3 separate regions of the Homo sapiens genome follow, and all the other regions are linked to region 3. Evidence: promoter capture Hi-C in 16 types of primary human blood cells and fetal thymus (Javierre and others, 2016). All regions are on one chromosome and are shown on one strand. Each heading gives the region's core, a stretch centred on a gene start or on the middle of the fragment in contact. The rest is flanking DNA. Distances are from core to core; before and after follow the strand shown.

Evidence for each region. The method cuts DNA at HindIII sites, captures the fragments that hold promoters and counts their contacts. A CHiCAGO score of 5 or more calls a contact.
Region 1: a contact is called between a fragment that was not itself captured here and the fragment with the promoter of LCE5A in region 3, in 4 of 17 cell types (naive B cells, M0 macrophages, total CD4 T cells and 1 more). The highest score is 7.2, in naive B cells.
Region 2: a contact is called between a fragment that was not itself captured here and the fragment with the promoter of LCE5A in region 3, in 1 of 17 cell types (total CD4 T cells). The highest score is 5.2, in total CD4 T cells.

The regions. Positions count from the first base shown.
Region 1 is chr1:152,086,850-152,089,946 of GRCh38, reverse strand. It overlaps TCHHL1 (trichohyalin like 1), which reads left to right and starts at 883. Exons shown (of 3, transcript NM_001008536.2): 1 at 883-927; 2 at 1,784-1,941; 3 at 2,404-3,097. The coding sequence starts at 1,804. The HindIII fragment of the contact is 182 bases long and covers 1,341-1,522 here.
Region 2 is chr1:152,148,735-152,151,992 of GRCh38, reverse strand. No RefSeq gene overlaps it. Among named protein-coding and RNA genes, the nearest start is that of RPTN, 8.9 kb to the left of the region's middle. The HindIII fragment of the contact is 1,913 bases long and covers 695-2,607 here.
Region 3 is chr1:152,509,465-152,512,562 of GRCh38, reverse strand. LCE5A (late cornified envelope 5A) reads right to left here and starts at 1,760. Exons shown (of 2, transcript NM_178438.5): 1 at 1,565-1,760; 2 at 386-1,049. The coding sequence starts at 1,028. The coding sequence ends at 672. The HindIII fragment of the contact is 1,377 bases long and covers 402-1,778 here.

The DNA.
Region 1 (3,097 bases), core at 182-2,681, 420 kb after region 3:
CTTCCATCCTTTGACAAGGAGTGTTTTAAAACATACTCTATTTTTTAAAAATATCTAAGAAAACCATTGAATCTAATTCTTATTTTATTAAATATTCTCTACTAAGAAGGACCCAGATCTAGGAGACAATTAAAATGTTTGCCAGTTCAGCATCTCAGACTCACTTCTGTTCTCAGCTTGATGATTTCAACATCTCCCTTTCCCCTTTACAGGGAGAACACAGTAATATAGATTATTGGTTTCAAGCTCCTTGTATAGTAAAAATGTCTTTAGAAAGCAAATATCAATCACGTTTTTAAAATAGCACAACATAGGTAAGCAAGGCTTTGCACACCAAGCAAGAATTTTTTTTTTTTTCTAACTCTGCCTCTGGGCAAGGAGAGCAAAGCATTGAAACATCTGAATCAACTGGTATCTCCACTTTTGTCACATGGCTAAATGGGGGCCTTTATTTTTAAACACATGATTGACACCCATCTCTCAGGTTTGGGTCAAATACGGGCCATCTTGTGGGCAGACAGAGGAATCAGATGACTTATGAGGTCCCTGCCAGCACTATGATTTGTCAGACAGAAATGTAATTATGTCCTTAGGTTAAAAAATGGGGGAGGGAAGCCAACACTACCTTGAAGAGCCTTCAAAACTATAATCTGCAAAAGTCAGTAAATGAATCAAGAAACCCCCTCCCCTTTCTTTTGATGCATCTGAAGCTAAGATTTAATTGAAACTGCCTAAAGAAGGAAATAAAATTAAGACAACTGACAACAGAGCAGGGGAGACTGGATTTGGTGGTGATGTCAGGTCATTAGACCCAGAGGGTGTCTCCTTCTTAACTGTGCAATTAGGACCTCAATAAAAGGTTCCAGCTCCTGCTGTCAGCTCACAGCCCGCTGCCCCACGTTCTACCTGCTCTCGCTTGTGAACTAGGTAAGTCCATCTGCTTGAGCATACTTGGGATTTCAGTTGCTGTTTTGCTTATATGTGAGATTGCAAGAGGATTTCAAAGGAAACACACTTTAAGTCTATGTCAACCCCTATTAATAATAATAAACTGGGAGCGCCAACCACCCAAATGCATTCCTTGATTATGGAACTTCTTTGATCATTTTCTTTTTAAAAAAAACATAAATTGTTTAGAAGTCATAGGCATGAATATTATTCAACAAGGCACAGGATCAGATCTCTATTGCAATGAAAATGTAGAAGCATTTAAAGGATGGGAAATGAATGAATAAGGGGTCGGGACATGGAATCATGTCTTCTTGGTTAAAGCATGTTGTTACCACCTGCAAACATAGGGGTTAATTTTCTTGGTGTGACTTATCTTTCCACTAGAAGCTTTGCTAACTTTAAAGGTTATACCCTCCTAACCGCAGGAGGCTAGACTGAGCCAAAGGGAGAGGAGAGCAGATAGACACTCTTGGATGAGGCTGGAAGAATGGGTCCAACTCTATTGGCTTCATTTATGCATTTCAATCCTTATGCTTGAGTTCTCTTATCACCTTCCTTTTGCAATGAAGCTTTCTCTGAGCACATGAATGTTGCTGTTTACTGAAGAGTGGGGTGAATTGTCTCTTCTAATACTTACCTATGCTGGGTCTGATTTCACCACAATGTCTGGTACAATACTAAATCACCCCTGGAGTTCAGATATAATATTTTAAGATACAGAATAGAGCAGGGGTTGCAGTGGAGATGGGGGAGGAACAAAAAGGATAATCTTGGTATCTCCTCCCTGAAGGACCCATCCTGGAAAATGAGCTTTGTTTATTCTTTCTCACAGCCTCTCCTGAGTTTGTAAAGATGCCTCAGCTCCTGAGAAATGTCCTCTGTGTAATTGAGACATTCCACAAATATGCCAGTGAGGACAGTAACGGGGCAACACTGACTGGCAGAGAGCTGAAACAACTCATCCAGGGCGAGTTTGGGGACTTTTTTCAGGTGAGCTTCTCACAGAGCTGTGTAAATTCTTTCCAACTCACCCTTTCTTTATAATCCAAGCAAGATGAGCATATGTGATCCCCATCCATTTTACACCTAGCTAACAGTTCTCAGCACTCACTGTCTCTTGAACAACTATTTTCAGTCTCAGTTCCATACTCTGTGCAATTACTTAGAGAAAAAGAGGTTTTCGTCACTGGGATTATTGCTTCTGCAAAGCTGACTTCTGAAAGGAGTCATAAACCATTATGCATCAAAATGCAACTCACAAGTGTTGTAAATGCTCTTTCTCAGGCATAGCTCTCTGATGAAAAATGGCTTGCAGAACCAATAAGTTCTTGCTGTTCTGGGAAAGTTAACCAGTTACTGAGGAATGAGGTCAGAAAAATAGGATTCTTGGGAGACACTTAGGACACTGGACCACATATAAATAAGCTGATTTCTCACTGTGTTTTCATGCAGCCCTGTGTCCTTCATGCTGTGGAAAAAAATTCAAATCTTCTGAATATTGACAGTAATGGCATCATCAGTTTTGATGAATTTGTTCTTGCAATCTTCAACTTGTTGAACCTCTGTTATCTTGACATAAAATCATTACTAAGTTCTGAACTAAGACAGGTGACTAAACCAGAGAAGGAGAAGCTAGATGATGTGGATGTTCAGGCAACCACCGGAGATGGTCAGTGGACAGTGGGAACTTCACCAACTCAAGAAAAGAGGATGCTTCCTTCAGGAATGGCATCATCATCTCAGCTCATCCCTGAAGAAAGTGGAGCAGTTGGAAATAACAGAGTGGACCCATGGAGAGAAGCCAAGACTCACAACTTTCCAGGAGAAGCATCTGAACACAATGATCCTAAGAACAAACACCTGGAAGGAGATGAACAAAGTCAGGAAGTGGCTCAAGATATACAAACAACAGAAGACAATGAAGGCCAACTTAAGACAAATAAGCCAATGGCAGGATCAAAAAAGACCAGCAGTCCCACAGAGAGGAAGGGACAAGATAAGGAGATCTCCCAGGAAGGAGATGAACCAGCCAGAGAGCAAAGTGTTTCCAAGATAAGAGACCAGTTTGGAGAACAGGAAGGAAACTTGGCAACCCAAAGTTCACCACCAAAAGAAGCAACACAAAGACCATGTGAAGATCAGGAAG
Region 2 (3,258 bases), core at 402-2,901, 360 kb after region 3:
AGAAATGCAAAGGGCCATGGCTTGTCCTGGGCCTCAAGATCAACAGGAACGCCCATATGTTGGCTGCTGTTTATATGACATATGTGTTCATGTGTAAGATGAGTCTCCTTCACAAATATTCTCTATAATTTAAACTCTCTCCAGCAAACTAAATGAGAAGGTGGAGAATCAGGGTGAAAGAATTCAAAATCTGGAAGCTGCTCAACATTCAGTGCATCATCTACATGCTAAATCCTTTTTTTTTTTTTCTATCTCAAAATACAAAACAGCCCAAATCCATGATTCTTTTCATCTCTACTCCTGTCATCCCAGTCCAGGTCACCTCTCCTAGAACACAGCTTCCTGATGGGACTCCCCATCCCTTTCAAAAAGGTAGACCACATTGTGCCACTCCCTACATGAAATTCCCAGTAGTTTCCCTCCACATTGAGAATAAAATCCAGCTTTGTTCTCAGGACCTTCCTATAGGATGGGGCCCTGCAAAGTCTCATCTTTCACCATTGTCCTCTGCATCACTGTTTTCTAATCACTCTGGCCTTCTTTCCATGATTCTAGCAGGACAAGCTGATCCCCACCGGGAGACCTTTGAACCAGCTATTTCTTTTGATCAGAATAGTCTTCTTCTCGATCTTGGTGTGGCTCAATCCTTATTTCATTCAGGTCTCAGTTAAAAAGTCACCTCGTGACAGAAGCTTTCTCTGGCATTTATTTTAAAAAAGTATCACCCCAATCAGCCTCTACCATATATTCCTCATTTGTGCTGCCAATGTTCTTAACACTTTTCATGTTTGATACCTTGTTTTTATGCTACTCATTTATTATCTTTTTCTCCCTACTGGAATGTAAGGCCCATAAGAACAAGGATTTTGTTTGTCTTGTTTGCTGCTGTTCTCTTGCATTTCGGACAATAGCTTGTCATGATGTACATCCAATAAATAAGTGTTGGTTGAATGCTCATAGAAGCCCTCCATGATCTGGCTTCAGTGTACATTTCCAACTCAGTTTCCAACAATGCCCCTAGACTCCAACTTAACAGGACAACTTCCTAGCCTCCACGTCATTGCTTATACAATTTCTTCCACTTAAACGCTGTCCTGATCTTTGTCTGCCAAAATCCTACCCATTCTTGGGACTGGCACCACCTTCTGCACCTATCATCAGCATACAGCTTATCAGATTGCATTGAAGTAAATTTTAAACCCATGTGTTTCCCACCAAGCAGTAAGGTCCCAGAAGTCAGAAATTGCATCTTATTCACAGTTGTATATTTCACATCGAGCACAGTGACTGACCAATTACATACATGAAGCTGAGATTTAAAATTTTTAAAAGACTTATATTTAAAACCTGCCTTCACCACTTACCAATTTTATGATCTTAAAAAAAATTGTCTCTTTAAGTCTCAGTTTTTGCATCTGTAAAATGGGGTTTAAAAATCCAGTTTAAAAAACAAAAATTAACAAGTGGAACCTAATCAAACTAAAGAGCTTCTGCACAGCAAAAGAAGCCACAGACAGAGTAAATGGAAAACCTACAAAATGGGAGAAAATGTTTGCAAACTATTAATCCAACAAAGGTCCAATATTCAATATCTATAAGGAACTTAAATCAACAAGAGAAAAACAAATAACCCTATTAAAAAATGGGCAAAGGACTTGAGAAACACTTTTCAAAAGAAAACATACAAGCAGCCAGCCAACAAACATGAAAAAATGCTCATCATTAATCATCAGAGAAATGCAAATCAAAACCACAATAAGATACAATCTCACACCAGTCAGAATGGCTATTATTAAAAAGTCAACAAATAACTGATGCTGGCAAGGCTGTGGAGAAAAGAGAATACTTATACACTGTTGTTGGAATATAAATTAATTCAACCACCATGGTAAGCAGTTTGAAGATTTCTCAAAGAACTTAAAACAGAGCTATATCCCATTACTGGGTACATACCCAAAAGAAAATAAAGACTTCTACCAAAAAGACACATGCACTTATATGTTTATTGCAGCATTATTCACAATAGCAAAGACATGGAATCAACCTAGATTCCTATCAATGGTGGATTGGATAAAGAAAATATAGTACATATACACCATGGAATACTACACAGCCATAAAAAACGAACAAAATCATGTCCTTTGCAGCAATATGGATGCAGCTACAGGCCATTATTCTAAGCAAATTAATGCAGAAACAGAAAACAAAATACCACATGTTCTCACTTATAAGTGGGAGCTAAACACTGAGTACACATGGACATAAAGATGGGAACAATATACACTGGGGACCACTAGAGTGGGGAAGGAGGGAAATGAGTGTACATTGAAAAACTTCCTATTGGGTACTAAGCTCAACACCTGGATGATGGGATTCATACCCCAAACCTCACTGTCACGCAATATGTCTATGTAACAAACTTACACATGTACCCTCTAAAGCTAAAAATAAAAGCTGAAGAAAAAATTCCAAAGTTTAAAAATTCTAAAGTTTCTTAGAGATAAATACAGATGATATATACAAAAGTGATTTATAATCTGATCTCTCCTTGTTCATTTACTTGGTATGCATTATCTTTTCTTCTCCTACATTATTTTAATAGAAGCTTAACAAATACATTTTGATATGATTTGGGTATGTGTCTCTTCCAAATCTCACATTAAAGTGTGATCCCCAATGTTGGAGGTGGGGCCTAGTGGGCGGTATTTGGGTCATAGGGGCAGATTCTTCATGAATGTCTTGGTGATGTCCTTGTGGTAATGAGTGAGTTCTCACTCCATGAGGTCATGTGAGATCTGGTTGTTTAAAAGAGCCTGGGACCTCTTCCTTCTCTCTTTTGCTCTCTCTCCTGCCATGTGACATGCCTGTTTGCCCTTCACTTTCCACCATGACTAAAAGCTTCCTAATGCTTTCACCAGAAGTAGATGCTGGCATCACACTTCTTGTACAATCTGAAGAGCTATGATCCAAAATAAACCTCCTTTCTTTATAAATTACCCAGTCTTTTATTATTTCTTATAACAATGCAAAATGTACTAATACAGAAAATTGGTACTGAGAGTAGGGTGTTGCTATAAAGATACCTGAAGATGTGGAAACAGCTTTGGAACTGGGTAATGGGCAGATACTGGAAGAATTTGGAGGTCTCAGAAAAAGACAGGAAGATAAGGGAAAGTTTGGAACTTCTCCAAGACTTGCTAAGTGGTTGTGACCAAAATACTGATTGAAATATGAACAGTGAAGCCCAGGCTGATGAGG
Region 3 (3,098 bases), core at 511-3,010:
TTCAGGCAATCTTATTCCCCATGAATGGGGACAAGCAATTTTTCAAACTGTGACCCATGCTTGAAGGAAACCCTCTCAGAACCTGAACCTTTTGAGTACAACCATCCTCTTCTCTTCAAACCCATTCCTGGCTCTCCTCATACAATCTTGTGTCTGGCGTAATGGTCTCAGACATTATTCTTTCCTTCAAGCTTAAAGTTCCAGAATCCAGTGCATAGAAGGAAATATTGTTTTCCAGAGGCCTAAGTAGCTTCACTGCCAAAATGTGCTTCCTAAACAAGTTTGTAAAGTGTTCGCTTGCATTTAAGAGAAGGGAAGGGAAGATGGCTTGATGCAGCAGGTAGGGAGTGGGAGAGGCAAACAATGAAATCAGGAGGCAGTGATATCAGGAATAAAAAGCTTTATTGTTACAGAGAAAATAGCTTCATAACTGAATTACAACACCTAGTTCTCCAAAGAGCTATGTCTGAGAGGGAAAGCCAGGCCAGAAAATATCACAAGCTAGACTTCAACCCTACAATGGAGTGAACATGGGCAGGATAAAGAGGGGAACTTAAGGCATTTCCGAAGTCCTTCCATGGGAAATGAGAGAAAAGAAGCCTCAGGCTGACACACATCTTCAGCACCTGGGATCTGCCAGTCCTTCTCCTCCGTGCTCCTCATGGCCCAGGTCAGCAGCAGCCTCCAGAGCTGTGGCAGCAGCCAGAGCCCCCAGAGCTGTGGCAGCAGCTGGAGCCCCCAGACTGCTGGCCACTGCCACTGCCACAGCAGCTGGAACTCTGAGGTCGGCGTCGGAGGGACTGGCGGGGCCTGTGGTGGCTCAGGCAGCAGCCACCACCCTCAGAGCTGCAGCAGCCCCCAGAGCTGGAACCACAGCAGGAAGAGACTGGAGGTGGGCATGGGGCTGAACACTGGGGAGGGCATTTTGGGGGACACTTGGGAGGACACTTAGGAGTACACTTGGGAGGGCATTTAGGGGTACATTTGGGAGGAGGCTGGCACTGCTGCTGGCTCTGCTGGCAGGACATCTCTGTAGAAGCTGAATAAAGCTGAAAGACAATACAAGCCCAAGGTCACTTCCTTGCCCTTAAAATTGAACTATAATTTCACAAGATTTTATCTCTAAGATGACCAGAATTTATTATTATGATTATTATTATTATTTGGGATGGAGTCTCACTCTGTCACTCAGGCTGGAGTGCAGTGGTGCTATCTCGGCTCACTGCAACCTCCACCTCCCGGATTCAAGTGATTCTCCTGCCTCAGACAGGTGTGCACCACCACACCCAGCTAATTTTTGTGTTTTTAGTAGAGACGGGATTTCAGCATGTTGGTCAGTCTCGAACTCCTGACCTCTTGACCCGCCCACCTCAGCCTCCCAAAGTGCTGGGATTACAGGCATGAGCCACTACTCCTGGCCTAAGATGAACCAGATTTTAAAAACCCAGTCTCCCAAGACCAGTAACAAGAATGATACAAATGATTTCCACCTAGTAACTCCATATTTTCAAATGAATAACTTGGAACTTCAGAAAGGCATCAGTCCTTCATTCCTTTTACCTACCTTCCACCCTCCCCTTCCAGAAGAACCTTCCCCTCCAAAATCCTTCTTTATCCTTGTCTTTCTTCAAGAATGGCCTCAACCTCCACCCAGGGGCTCTTTCTGCCCAAAACACCAGCACCAAGAGTTCATCCTGGTCCTGAGAAGCACTCTACCTGGTTCAGGCACTGCAGCAGATCACTCAGGAGACAGGTAGACTGAGGTGCTGTCAGAAGCTTCTGCCTTTTATACAATTCAGTCCTGACCTAGCATCAGGAGGTGCAGACCATGTGCGGGACGCTAGAAGCATCTTTCATAAAGGCATGGGTGACTCCCTCCCCTCGCATCCCAGGGACCCAGTTCCTCCCTGCATAAGCATCTCAAGTATTAACCCACAGGAAGATCCCCTGAGAACTGCAGGCCTCTAGGATGGTGAGGGAGCTCTGTGAATTGCACATGGCACCTATCTATCTCACAGGCAGCTCTGCTATGCCTTCTATTTTCTGAGCTGGGCCAATACGGCTCTACACCTCTGGAATGAACAGAAGTTCTGTTTTCTCTTTGGTATAGGAACTGAAGGAGAAAATTCCCAAGATGGAAATTAAATGGCCCTTTTTAGAATAATAATAGAGATCCAAAATAAAATTGTAGGCCCAAGCAAATAATCTAACATGATTTTTTTTTCATTTCTAGATGATGCCATAACCAGAACAAGGAAGGTTTGATATCTCAGTGATGTTATTTTAGGCAGATCTAATGCTGACAGTGTGGGTGGTTGGGCTTCTCTCCTTGCCTGAATTTGATGCTCCAAAACTGCTCACAAACAGTACCGATTCAGCACTAACAATGCCTTTAAAAGGGCAGAAGTCTAGGAATGGCTTATTTACTCGTGTTAAAGAAGGTGCCCTTGGCCAGCTCGAGGTGAGGCAGCAAAGACCAGGTGTATACTGAGGGTGGAGCAAAAGCTCTCCACTCATCTGGAGGTTTCCAGAAGTGAGGCACCAGTTCTGGTCATTCATAAGAGAAGAGCATCCAACCTGGGAAGGACCTCAGGAGAAGATTAATCTTTGGATGGAGAGGTGAAGAGGAGGAGTATATAGGTTTTAAAAGCCCATGGTGGGATCCAAAACATTTTCTCAGCAAACAATATTCTGAGGGAAAGTTGGGTCCCCAGGATAGTTATCAAAATTGACTTAGCTGGAAAGGGTGGCCAAAATATGGCATATTCACAATGAAAGCTGCAGTGAGAGAAAATAAGACTGGGAGAAAAAGGCAGTACCTTAGCTCCATGCTCTTTGAAATGGGCTGCAGTGAGAAGCATCAGCCCAGTTATAACACAGACCCTGGAGAGGGACATCCAGCATCAGTTCCCACCCTTGCTCTCTCCACCTGTGCAACCTCTGGCAAGTTACTTAACCATCACTGGAAAAGGGGGCTGAAAACATTCCTAATCCACTGAATAAAGAAATACAGATGAAGTTCTTAGCACAGTTCCTAGAACTGCAAGTTTAAAAAAGAAAAAACTAATCACTATGGCTATCCTTATTTCCATGAGAAA